Regions from separate parts of the Homo sapiens genome. Here region 2 is linked to region 1. The links are contacts of gene promoters, found by promoter capture Hi-C in blood cells and fetal thymus (Javierre and others, 2016). All regions are on one chromosome and are shown on one strand. The core of a region is centred on a gene start or on the middle of the fragment in contact, and the rest is flanking DNA. Distances in the headings are between cores, read along the strand shown. Region 1 has its middle 27 kb from the start of MDM1. Region 2 holds the start of SLC35E3 (solute carrier family 35 member E3).

Evidence for each region. The method cuts DNA at HindIII sites, captures the fragments that hold promoters and counts their contacts. A CHiCAGO score of 5 or more calls a contact.
Region 2: the fragment with the promoter of SLC35E3 here is called in contact with a fragment that was not itself captured in region 1 in 11 of 17 cell types (naive CD4 T cells, fetal thymus, non-activated CD4 T cells and 8 more); the score reaches 9.1 in naive CD4 T cells.

Annotation. Positions count from the first base shown.
Region 1 is chr12:68,355,959-68,362,898 of GRCh38, reverse strand. No RefSeq gene overlaps it. Among named protein-coding and RNA genes, the nearest start is that of MDM1, 27 kb to the right of the region's middle. RefSeq lists an enhancer at 4,124-4,635. The HindIII fragment of the contact is 6,194 bases long and covers 331-6,524 here.
Region 2 is chr12:68,742,517-68,749,456 of GRCh38, reverse strand. SLC35E3 (solute carrier family 35 member E3) reads right to left here and starts at 3,281. Exons shown (of 5, transcript NM_018656.5): 1 at 2,678-3,281; 2 at 1,417-1,527. The coding sequence starts at 3,079. It overlaps NUP107 (nucleoporin 107), which reads right to left. Exons shown (of 28, transcript NM_020401.4): 28 at 3,648-6,940. RefSeq lists enhancers at 2,259-2,448, 2,809-2,918, 2,969-3,068, 2,918-3,608. The HindIII fragment of the contact is 13,773 bases long and covers 1-6,940 here.

The sequences.
Region 1 (6,940 bases), core at 2,178-4,677:
TCCAGGACCATGCTGTATACCTGTACTGAGATGAGCAGGTAACCAGATCAGGCACAACACAGAATGGTCGTCTCACCAGCTTGGGCTCTTCCATCTCTACACTGTAGTACAGGCACTTTCTTACAGATGGAAATAGATTTTTCTTCCTTCCTTTTACCTTATAACATTCTACTCATCCTTGGGTTTTTAACCTGTTTAAAAGCTTTTCTCAAATTTCACATCCTGTTCATGATGCCTTATGCTACCATTCAAAGTGATAACTTGTTTCAATTAATCCTTAGAGCACTTATTTTCTACGGGGATCGTGGTATATATTGGGAAGACAAAGCTTGAGTCAGAAGAGCAGGGCCTTGGAATCAGGCTTACTTTAATTTAAACGCAAGCCCTGCCATGATCATCTGTGTGATTTTAGGCAACTTTCTTCACCTCCAAGTCTATAAAATGGAATTCAAAGTGGAACTGGAAGGATGATTAAGTGAAATGGACATGTGAAGCACCTAGCACAGTGCACAGCCATTTGATAAATATTATTGCCTCTTCCCCCTTAACCTCTTAATTTGGTACTTTTAGTATTCTACTTGTATGGTTCCATGTTTTGAATTTTTATGTGTTTTAGTTCTCTAACTAGACAATAAACTCTTAGAGTTTAGAAACCACATTTTATATTTCTTGACATCCCTGAAACATCCATCACAGTACCTTGAATGTGGGAGATGATTTATAAATGTTTGCTGATTGATTTATGGATTTTTTTTTGGCAAGTTTAAACCTGAAGGACATACTACTCTCTGGAGTTGAGAACATAGCAATGAGCCTCAAAGAAGAAAATGAGCCTCAGTGTTCATGGAGGAAGGTCATTGCTTAGCACCTTGGGAAGACATGCAGCTGATGGATGAGGAGGATGCTGGATGGCTATGCTGAGTTGGCTTTAGACTCTGCTCACCAGCTTTGGAAATGGTTACCCAGAAAGATGACAATATCCTGATAACCCCTCCATGACCAAATTCTTTAGCAAAGCATTTCAACAGGCCATCACCGTGGCATGTGGACTGATGGGTTGCACAGCTGTTATTATGTGCTTACAAGGGAAATTAGGAGTAATTAATGGACTGGGATCAATAACAGTATTATATTGTAGTGAATGATTTAATTTTCTAAGTGAAGAGGTAAGCACAGATATTTCACATCATTAAAATAGATGTGAATCAGCATAGCAGGTTTGAAGAAACTACTCCATTTTTTGTTGTATATAAAAGTTTAAATTTTTAACTTCTATTTACTTTTTGAAAAGGTAACGCATGCATAAGGTAACTTGAACAGTTCAAAGTAGTATTAAATAATTGCTCCCCAGAGACAATCACTATTGCTAGTGTATTGAGTGTTCTTCCAGAGGTGCCCTATGTATTTGTGTGTGTGTGTCCCTTAGCTGGAAGTAGTTTCGAGAATCCAAGAACTTCCTGTTGGTCTGCTATATCTGTTTGGTTCATCCGTATATCTCTGGTTGTTACCCCAGAGACCAGACCATACAGCCCAAAATTTATGGTCAATAATTATATATTGATTGAGTAGATCTATTTTAGTCAGTGACTGATTTAATCTGTTTTAGCAGTTTTTAGAAAATGATCGGCATTTGCTTGATACATCTTTATTGTGAATTAACAAGACATATAATTTGACATGTCTAGATAATAGAGCATCTTCATGAATTCTAATGTATTGGTACAATAATTTTAAACCACTGGTACAGAAGCTGCCTCTCTGAATATTCTTCACTGACTGGAGGGAACTCTTTGGAAAATATGTGCCATCTGAGTTTAAATAAGAATGGGTTAAGAAACAAAAAAACAAGATTAAAAATATGTCAGAATACACATGCAAATTGGTGCAGTTATTGAAAGTTGCTAGTTGGGAGGCTACATATTTTAAAAATTGCCTCCTTAGGTTTACAAGCCACATATTACTGTGGCTGCTGCCACTTCTACTATTATTGCTGTTGCCACTACTAACATTATTACTATTTATTTGGCATTTGCCCCTATACAGTACCGTGTATACTTACTTACCACGTATACTTACAGTACCATGTAAGTATTTTGTATGCATTATGTCATTTAATCTCGTAGCAACATTATCAGGTAGGTATTATTATCATTTGCATTTTATAGATGAGAGAACCGAGGCAAATAATGATTTCATAACTTGCTTATGTTCACAGAGCTAATAAAATGGTGGAAGAAGGATTGTGGCCCAGTGTGATACTAGAGCACATACTTCTGAGTCGTGCTTCAGTTTTGACCAAAAATGGAACATTCTTATTGATCATCCTTTCTGTTTGCCAAATTTAGCTCCAAATGACTTTTTCAAAATTTTATATTTTTTATTGAGATGGGGTCCCACTGTATTGCCCAGGCTGGTGTTGAACTTCTGGCTTCAAGCAATCCTTCCACTTCAGCCTCCCAAAGTGCTGGGATTACAGGTGTGAGCCACCGCACCAGGCCAGTGCCTTTTTTTTTTTTTTTTTTTTTTTTTTGTGGAGATAGGGTCTCGCTATGTTGCCAAGGCTGATCTTGAACTCCTGGCTTCGAGCTATCTCCTGCCTTTACTTCCCATAGTGTTGGGATTAAAGGGGTGAGCCACTACACCCAGCCAACTTTTGACTCTTTCAACAAATGAAATCCACTTTCAGAAAGAATGCTGTTGTGTTAGCACTGGGTTTTCAAAAGATATGTGTCAATTTTAAAAGAGGAGCTTCCAAAATGGTTTGCATTATTAAAATGGGTGAATACTTTGAAAGGGATAATAACTCATTTGTGTGTCTATACATGTGTGTTTGCTTAAAAAAATCTGCCCTTGTATTTATTGTCACATCTCATATATTTAATTTATTTAAATATAGGACAATACAGGGAATTTCCTGTTAGAGTTACATAGTTGGAAAATACCAAATTGTCTGTATTTCTTCACATTTCATCACTAGGCATCCAGATAGTCCTAGGCAAATCTATGAATTATGCAAAATGTGTCTTGCCACATCCCTTTCTTTCAGCACTTCCCTTTAATTATTTCTCCATCTACACTCTCCTCTCCTCATTCAAAAATGCCAAGAGCTTGGTGACCCTCTGCAGCCATATGCAGAGTCCTCAAGTTCAAGGCCCTACCCTGTCCTGTCCTTTCTGGGTACTCCTTTCATGTGCTCTAAAATCATTCCTCTTTTTAGCCATTCAACTAAAATTTTATTCTTGTAGAATAACCAATGACATGTAACGTTCCGGAGAAAAGACAGCAGAGAAAAGTAATCCACATTAAGGTGTAAATGACTAACAGCTCTAGCTTAATATAGAGATCCTGACAGTGGCAGTGATATTTAGAAAGAGAAGATTATTAGGTCAAAAGAAGTATATTCTTTCTGGCCTGGGTCCCATTCTTGTCCTTTCTCGACCATAATAGATCCTGTGTGGGGAATTTCTTGTCCTACTTCAGCTCATGCAAATCTTGTATCTGTGGTTGTACATTATTCTTTGATGACATCAGAGACCTACTTCTGCTTTTGGCATATGATAGGGGACACTTGTTTATTTTGGTTGGGAAAGGAGGAGATTGTTATAGGCACTGATAGGGGTATGGGGGCCATGTTTCCCAGGGGGATTCCAGGATGTGTCCATGAGAAACGCATTTAATATATTATTTGGGAAAGGAGTGTTTGTTATTGTTACAGTGGTTTTGCTTGATGATTTTTGTTTTTAACAGTGAGAAACTGAAAATCTTCTATGATCATCTTGTTGCCTCTAGCAGTGCTTTTGACTTATAGAGTGTGTGTGATTCCCTGAGATACCAACTTTTCTGCCAGTTTCAAAGTTTAATAGTATTTGGGGCATGCCACCTAGCGGTGATAGCTTTTGGTTTCTTGCTCATTGGAGGAGAATAAATCAAAACCCTAGTAAATCAGTCTCCTAGACTTGAAAGCCACATGGGAGGCCATCTAGGTCATCTGTTAGCTTTTGCGTAAGCAGGCAAGTAAATCACCCTTTCTGTGGATCTGAGACAGAAAAATCAGGGCATCTAAAGCCCCCTGGGCTCAGAATTCCTCCGGCTCCCAGTTCCCCCAGTGAACTTTGAATGTTTGTGGCCTGCATGGCTGAGACGCGACCCTGTATCTCCGCAGGCATTTTGGCAATCCCAGCAACAAACGCATGGAAGACAAGGCTCCTCTGACTCTGAGCCCTGACTTACCTCGTCCTCACTCTGACCTGTTTTCTCCCTCTCCCTTCCCCCACTCTTGGCTTCTCCTTACCCTCTCCACACTCCCCACTGCTTTTAGTGCCTTCCTTCCATTGTCATGCTTGATGGACCCACCATACAATACTTTTTTTTTTTTTTTTGCCATAGCTCCTTTTAAAATTTCTATTTTAACTTTCTGTCCCTAAATAGAAAAGGATAAATGCTTAGTACAGAAAAGTTTGGTAAAAACCCTTTTTGTGTCTGTGTGTGTGTGTGTATGTGTTGAGTGTTTTTTAAAAAACAAAAATAATATAAAATACTATTCACTTAGTAATAGATCATGAGCATTTTCCCCATGTTAATAATGTTCTACTCTAGGATTTTAGTAACTGCATCACAGGATATACCAGAATTTACTTCATTACTGTTAAATTCTAGGAAAGTGAGAATGATAGGAAATATTTTTAATTCACAGTCACGTTCAGGTCACACTTTATTGAACATTGATTGTGTGTTATGCTCCTGTATAAGCCATTTTTACATTCATAAGTACTTTTAACTTTCATAAGATCTCTGTAAAGGCCGGGAGCAGTGGCTCATGCCTGTAATCCCAGCACTTTGGGAGGCCAAGGCAGGCAGATCACCTGAGGTTGGGAGTTCAAGACCAGCCTGACTAACATGGAAAAACCCCCGTCTCTACTAAAAATACAAAATTAGCCAGGTGTGTTGGTGCATGCCTGTAATCCCAGCTACTTGGGAGGCTGAGGCAGGAGAATCACTTGAACCTGGGAGACAGAGGTTGCAGTGAGCTGAAATTGTGCCATTGCACTGCAGCCTAGGCAACGAGCGAAACTTGTCTCAAAAAAAAATTTTCTATGAGGTAGGCATTGTGATGCCATTTTACAGAAGAAACTTGAGGATCTGAGAAGCAGCTTACCCAAGATCACATGGTTTGGAAGGAGGAAACACAGTAAAATTTTGTTCTCTGGATTTATAGTCCCTCAGCCACTTCCTGAGGTCCCAATAGATACTGAATGTGAACATAGCTTTTCTGAGCATTCTTGCTCTTTGTCTTCAAGATGGGAACAGAGAGAGACCCTTGAAAGGAGATTAGTGTTAAAAGGCTTTAGAGTCAAGTTGGGGATTGCAAAATAGGGTATGAGAAAGTGGAAGGAGAGCTACCTAGATAGGGAAGCCTGCGTTTTCATAGCCTCAGGAATAACTCTTGCTAAATGCTCTATATACATTATCCAATTTTATCCTCACAGCAACCCTGGGAAATACATACAAATATAATTTTACTTTACAGATGGAGAAAACTAAGATCAGAGAAGTAGTTGGTCTAAGGTCACTTTGCTGGCAGGTGTCAGAGGCAGGATTAGAACCCAGCTTGTCCGATTCCAAAACTTCTTCAACTGTAATATGAATTTCCTCTCCAGGTTAATGAGTGTCCTAATCATTCTAAGAATGAGTAGTAATAAGAATTTTATAGTGATATAGTCATAGGCCCCATCCCTGGTTTTGAGGGTGTGTTTGAAGGGGGGTTAATGGAACAGATGAATGAAGTAGGGGGAAGAGGGGGGAAGAAGAGTAAAGTGAAACAAAGCCCAGAAAAAAAATTAAAAAGCCTGAAAGAATGCCAGTTGCAATAAAAGCAACCCATGGGGAAGACAGACAGGTAATCTTTGATGCAAAACATTTGGAAAACAATGCTCAGCTGTTGAAAAGGCTGAAATTTCTGTTTTCTCATGTTTTATAATTAAGAAGAAATCTAAGAACACTTGTTAGAAAGTTTTTTCTCCAGTGGTCCAACGTACATTTCCCAAAAATGGTTAGCTCAAAAAACTCATCATATTACTTAGCATAAGCACCAGTGAAATAGTCTTTATGTCAATTATCCCACAAGTTTATAGTGCAGGGTGAGAGATTAGCAGCAATATACTTTTTCAGGCATTGTGGCCATTTCAATTGTTTCTGATTTTTTGATCTCTAAAATAGGTAATACTCCCTAATTCATAGGTGTTGTGAAAATTAATGAGTAAATACTAAGAGCTTTGGGAGGGATTTAAAAGGGAGATGTTAGTGTATGCTATTATTATATCCTCATTTCTATTCTGAAGTCATAATGCTCTGATAGTGACACTGTCATCATCACCATGGAAACCCATGATATATGTCACTTTTTTCTCTGGGGCCTTTCTCCATCCTCCAGGCAGTTCCAGATGCTGCCACAAAAATGCTTAGCTCCCTTTTCTGGTCATCTTTAAGTTCCCTCACTGGTTTGTAAATGCCTTTACTACTAAGCTTTTCCTTGAATATGTCCCTGTCCCTTCACCTACATCTTTCTTCTCTTTTATTATCCTGTATTCATTCCTGTGATTCTGGACACATAGCTTTCCATTCATTTGTTCTCTTTTACCTTGCTCTTCCTTTCCTCCTGTGTTTGGGATAATCTTTGTTGATTCAACAAGTTGTTCTTTATCCCTATTAATGTCTACATGGAGAAGCCAAGGCAACTTGATGTTATCAACTTTATTACTGAAGTTTCAACATCTATGTAGTGTTTTGCTTCAGTTATTAAGAAGTTGGCTGGACACAGTGGCTCCCACCTATAATCCCAACACTTTGGGAGGCCTAGGCAGGAGGACCACTTGAGGCCAGGAGCTCAAGACCAGCCTGGGCAACATAGCAACACCCTGTCTCACAAATTTTTTTTTTTTTT
Region 2 (6,940 bases), core at 2,032-4,531, 390 kb before region 1:
CCATCTTTCTACAACTCAAGCTAATAGCTGGTCACTTGTCTTTTAACTCCTTTTAATGTCTCCAGCAGTATAAGAGAAACAACATAGAAATTATCCCAAGATACTGTGGGCAGATACAACTTTCTTTAAGAGGAATGTTTTGGGAATATACCTATTTTGTAATGGTACCTTTACCACTTACTGATAAGAAACTGTCCATTAATCTACAATCATTCCTTGGTCAATCTCATGTCAAATATCTACCTTAGGGATATAGAATCCTTTGATTCTAATCTATAGCAATTTTGAGACTTGTGTGAACAAAAATGGTCATAGTGACAGAGATGGTGAGTACTCTGAATCTATTACGTATAAGGAGTACAATTACTTGCTCTGTTTAATAAATTGCCTATACTAGGCAAAAACAAGTGCATTTAACAAGAAAGATGAATAGGAATGTTCACTAGCCTCTTCTTTTATTTAAACTGCTTCTCTGCCACTAGAAAATGTATTTCACTGCAGAATATTTTCAAATACTGTCTCTGACATGATCACTACTAGAATGTTTAAGATGCCAGGGCTCTATTACTGAACTCCTAAAATTTCAAACAAGAATGCCTTAGTTTAATAACCAGTGGATGTTTGTGAAAAAAATAAAATTGGTTACACATTTTGGCTTTGATTCCCCATGCAGGCACACCCAGAATTTCCAGACCAAGGTTTTCAGTATAGAGAGAATACCGTTTCACTGTCCCCTACAGCAAGTTATTTTTTCTCCACTAAATAAGAATCAAAAACCATACTTGTTAGGATTTTATGGTAATGAAGTAAGTGAATCCATGAACATATTTTTAATGAATATCTGCTATAGGCAAGGCACTGCGCTTGCACAAATGGAAAAATATTCATTAATATAAATTACTCTATATTTATTAATATAGAGTATAATATTGTAATAATCTATATTAGACACATTATTAAAAGCCAATAAACAAGTTGTAACAGCAGTATAATTTTTGAGGCAAAAACATCTAAAAATCTGAAATTTTTCATTACTGTTCAGATTTCTGGAAGTATACTCACTCCTTCACAACAATGTTAAAAGTAAAGAGTAAACAGAAAACATAACAAACTTAGGAAGTAAAAAGTCTTACTAGGTATTTTGTAAAGATTTCCCAGAAAATAACTTCACCCCAAGCTGAGACTGTTAAGCATGGATATTATACACTTACAAACAGGTAGGTATTTGGTGAGCATCACACACCCAAGTTTCTCTGTCTCCTTTCTTCTCTTCACCTTGAGTCAGACAACTTATGCAATTATGCTTTCTTCCCAACAGTCTATTGTCTCTATACTGTATTTTCTAAACCTTGGAATACAGCTTCAAAATTTATGAAATCTGCTAAAAAGGCACATAAAGAAAAAAAAATTACCAACCACTTGATAAAGGGATGTAACTAAAACACCAAGAGCAGCAAACACCATTCCAAGGAAATTAAACTTCACATCGTAATAAGAATTTAGGATTACACCTAAAGTTATAGGAATCTGTAACGAAAAAGAGGTAAATGTTGTTCAGATTAAATTCAAGAGACAAAAATTTAGTATTCCTTTCACAATGTCTTACAAGGCTAATGATAAACACATAACTGGGAAACAATGAACCTGTATAAATGTTTTCTGTTTTGACTTGGGAAAACTAGTTGTTAATCCTATTTCCTAAACGTGAAATATGACAAATCTATATTGATATTCACATTTAATTCCATTCTAAATTTGTGGTAAATATATTGCACTTTGCAAGAAAATACCACATGAATACAAAGGTGAGTAAATGGATCCCCAAACTAGTGTCTAAACAGCATAAGCATAAATATAAAACAATAAAAGCATAAAGACCTTAAATATAAGGCCAGGCACGGTGGCTCACCACTGTAACCCCAGCGCTTTCGGAGGCCAAGGCGGGCAGATCACCTGAGGTCAGAGTTCGAGACCAGCCTGATTAACATGGAGAAACCCCGTCTTTACTAAAAATACAAAATTAGCCGGGCGTGGTGGCGCATGCCTGTAATCCCAGCTACTCGGGAGGCTGAGGCAGGAGAATCGCTTAAACCCGGGAGGCGGAGGTTGCGGTGAGCCGAGATCGTGCCATTGCACTCCAGCCTGGGCAACAAGAGTGAAATTCCGTCTCAAAAAGAAAAAAAAAAAAAAGAAAAAGACCTTAAATAAGTTACTAAGTGCTAAAATTGAGTCCACCTCCTTTTATTTAAAGATGCAGACAGCTCTAAAGTATGGTGCTGCAGACGTTTTGAGACCTACTTTATGCTACATCTTTTCACGTTTTATCATACACGATTTGATTCCCCTGGGGGAGAAAGGCTGTTTTTGTTTGAGCTTTTGCAGATATTCTGATAACACTGGACTGTACCACCCAATACAGCTTTTTTTCTTATCGATCACAGCATTTAACGATTTCCATCAAATGGCAGCTACTAAAATTCACACATGCCCACTCTTCTGGGCTGACAAGATGGCCTTTTCCCCCTCCCTAAAATAAGCCTAAAAGTTCACATGCCCACAGATGACTCATTTGTGGATTTCAAGATGAAGGGAAAGACCAGTGTGCGTTCGAATTTCCCGGGGCCAGTGCAGGAGGTGGGTCGGGAGAGCGGCGCCTTGGGAAGCTGAAGCTACTCACCAGCGTGAGCTGGATTCTGGTGGAGAAGGTTTTCTGGTAGCAGAAGGTCTGGATGGCTATGATCACCGGCGTGGTCATGGCCTTGGCCAGCTGATAGGTGCCTATGGTGTTGTTCTGCAGAGAAAGGTTAGTGAAGACCACAAAGCCACAGAAGCTGAGGGCCAGGAGGAGGAGCCTGGAGGGCGGCAGACTTTTGGGGGCAAAGATGTCCAGCTTCTGGCAGATATACAAGCCCAGCCAGGTGACCACGAAGTGCACCAGGGTCAGGCTCATGTTGGGGAAGCCGTGGTACACATAAATCCATTTGTTGAGGAACACAATGCAGATGGACACCAGCAGGTTGAACAGGAGCCCGGCGGCGATTCGCCAGTGGCCCCGCACTCGGTCCACCAGCAATGCCATGATCCCCGCGAAGCTGGGGCCGTCTAGCCTCGGAAGGGGCGCCGGGCCTGTCTCCGGCTGCCCTTCTACTCCACCGCCGCGTCCTCGCAGACGCCGACCTCACCGTCTGACCCAGGAGTGGCATGCACAGATCAACCCCGGGCGAGTAGCACTCTTAACAGAGGACACACACCCCGCCGCCGCCCTGTAAGCCAGCTAGGACGCCGCAGCACGTCCCACGCCCCGCTCATCTCCGCCCGCAGCCACGTGACTCGGGGCTCCAGTGCTTCCGCCCCCGAGCCGCTGGCTGAACGGCCGCTACCCTGCGCAGGCGCGCTGAGCCTTGGGCGCGCGACGCTTGCGTCTTTGGGTCCTATCCTCTGGGTCCCCGACCCCCTTGGTCACCTAACGCCTACCTGACTGGACCAATCTAGGACCCCTTTCTTGATGTTTGTTTCCTGTGTGTCATTGACCCGATTTGCTAGACAACTTCTCTCTGGCTGTGCAGACACTGTTAGCCAATTTTACGTATTAAATGCTGAGCAAATTTAGTAGCCCTCGCCAGAGGGGGGAAAGAACTTATTGAAAGCATGTTTTTATTTTTTATTTTTGGAAAAAGACATTCAAAATTTACTTTCCAACAGACAGCATCATCGGGTATAACTACAAGGGTTTCTCCTTAGATCATACATTCACAAAGCATTATTAGCTCAACAGTGAGAAAATGTGTTCTCTAAAGATGTCCCCTTGACAATGTAAACGAGTGCTACTGTGTTCACTTACAACTCGAGAAAAAAACGTACAACCTGGCAAAACCGTATATATATACAGCTGTCTCTAGGGGTGCATACAAATATATATATATGTTTTGGATCAGGTCAGGTGCAATGACTAAGAGATAGAACTTTGAGTAACAGTCTTGATCGACAGTAAGGTCCTTCACACAGAAGTCAGGTTCTTCCTTTCTCCTTCCTCCTTAAGTCGATAAAGAAAGATTATATATTGTAGATATTACAGGTACAAAAGGAGATTTTTAAAAAAGGAATCACAAAAACATCTTGAATGTCCAGCTGTTCCTGCCAATACATCAATTCTTAGTTTTAAGACAGAGTCTAGGATTAATTCAGCAGTCATAAAATTAAAAAGAGAGACTGTGGTACAAAAAATTTAAAATAAATGAGGAAGTAGGGCATGGTGGCGTGGGCCTGTAGTCCCAGCTATTTGAGAGACTGACGTGGGAGGATTGCTTGAGCCCAGGAGTTGGAAGCCGGGATGGGCAACATAGTGAGACCCCCATCTCTAAATTAAATAAATAAATGAGGTAGGGAAATTAAAACTTTCACACCCAGGACATGCCTGTTCCAACTTTGTAGCCTTCATGCAATGCTCAAGGAAAAAGTCTTCATAATTCCTTGGCATAAGTCACACCAAGAAAAGTTTTTAAAACTTAGTATGCGAACCTGTGATAGGCAACACGCCCTTCCCTGAGTTTCCTCTCTAGAATGAAAACCCAGTTCTTCAAGAGTAGGCACTGAGGAACTAAATTAAGTTGCCTGAAATTTCCCACTCAGGTGCCCACCACTTCTGGTGTTCAGGAAGAGAGGCATTTGGGAATTGTGAGGAGCACATTGGCACTCTTGGGGCTCCAACTGAACTGTATTTAAATAAGCAGCAACACACACATTGACTCCCTAAGGACTCAAAGGAGTCCAATTGGCTGGGTGCAGTGGCTTATGCCTGTAATCCCAGCACTTTGAGAGATCGAGGCGAGTGGATCACTTGAGGTCAAGAGTTTGAGACCAGCCTGGCCAACATGGCAAAACCCCGTCTCTACTAAAAATACAAAAATTAGCCAGGCGTGGTGGCAGGCGCCTGTAATCCCAGCTACTAGGGAGGCTGAGGCAGGAGAATCGCTTGAACCCAGGAGGCGGAGGTTTGCAGTGAGATATCATGCCACTGCACTCCGGCCTGGGAGACAGAGCAAGACCATGTCTCAAAAATAAATAAATAAATAAAAATTAAAAACAAGTCCATTTGAGGGCATCCTAATTAAGAGTCTAAGGTTGAAGGAATTTTGTAATTCCACAACCTTAGTGGGTTTCTGTGCTGTGTTTTTTAAAGGACATTCAAAAAACAAGGCACAACAAAAGACAAATACAGAGTGGGGGACATGCAAAACAAGTTCCTAAATAGATGACAGACCTTGTCCATTTACCCACATACGGTTACGATGGAAGCATACAATATTCCTCCTCCTCATTTAGGCTAAGTAGTTTTCCCACTGTTGTTCAACAAATAGGTAACAGTCTTTGGAAATAGTCACCCTGGGTTGTACAAAGTTTCTATATATACAGTTTGTTGCAAGTAACAAAACTACTTTTAAGACTCACTTATTTCCCCTCCCCACCCCAAATCTAGTCTGTATTTGTTTTGGTATGAATTTTTTGTTTTTATTTTTTGCAAAGTAGCATAGCAATAATCATGATTACAGGACTGCATGAGCTGTAAAAATCATTTGCATATTAGTAAGAATAAAGAAAACAGGAAGACAAGATGAATTCTTTAGAGAAATAAAACAAAAAAAGCACATAATATAGAACTGATCAAATTCTATGATCCCATCTCAGGCTTCCCAAGCCAGCTGTCTCTAGGGGTGGCATCTATAAATACATATTCAAGAAATTCCTTAGATGATTAGCAAGTTTGGGGAATTACTGTTTTCTATTAGAATCACATTCTTTTAGTTGTCTCCTGTTTATAAGCCCTACACTCTAGCCTATTTGGTGTATTTGTTGGTTCATAATAATGCCCAGCATTTATCATTTCTTGCTCATACTGATTTCTTAATCTATAGAGCCTCATCCTTCTTGTGTCACTCTTTGCCTTTGCAAATTCAGTGCATTACTCAAACCCCAAACCAATACTACTTCCTGAGAGTCTTTTCAGCTGGAGAGAGGTTCTTCCTGCTCAGACTACTTGTAATTCTTTCTTTTTTTGGAGACAGTGTCTCGCTCTGTCCCCAAGGCTGGAGTGCAGTGGCGTGATCTCGGCTCACTGCAACCTCTGCCTTCCAGGTTCAAGAGATTCTCATGCCTCAGCCTCCCCTGAGTAGCTGGGATTACAGGCACCTGCCACCATGCCCGGCTAATTTTTGTATTTTTTTAGTAGAGACAGGGTTTCACCATGTTGGCCAGGCTGGTCTCAAACTCCTGACGACAGGTGATCCACCTGCCTCGGCCTCCCGAAGTGCTGGGGTTACAGACGTGAGCCACTGCACCCAGCCACTACTTGTATTTTTAAATGACACCTTTTAAATGTACTTATGGTATTTCCCCTATTAGAAGAGCGGGATCTGTAATCTCCAATATATTCAGTGCTTACTGTGTGCCAGGTACTACGCTAAGTCTTTATATGCTCTTATTTTGATAGGAAGTTTGCTAAATGAAAGTTAAACTAGAAATGTCTTCAAAATAACTAAAATAATAATAGCATGTTATGTTAGAAAAATTCTTGTTATAGTCATCTTCTTAATTTTAATATTCAAAAATACTAAATTTTATGATAAATAAAAAATTACGTACCTGGCTTAAAAATAAATCTACTTTCCATCATCTTTATGATTTTAAAATATCAGAATGCTTATGATTACAGAAAAAACTAGAACAGAAAATTTAATTTTCTTATTACATGAAAAAGAGACAACCCTGGAATTTGTAAAAACAGAAAATTTTAATTTTTATATAGTTTTATTAACAAGCACACAGAGAAACGCTGATATCCCTACATGTTGAAAGTGTCACGATAATATTCTGAAAAGTACAAAATTCAAATGTCTAAATTTTACATGGTAATGCAAAAGAAAAAATTACTAATAACAAGTAT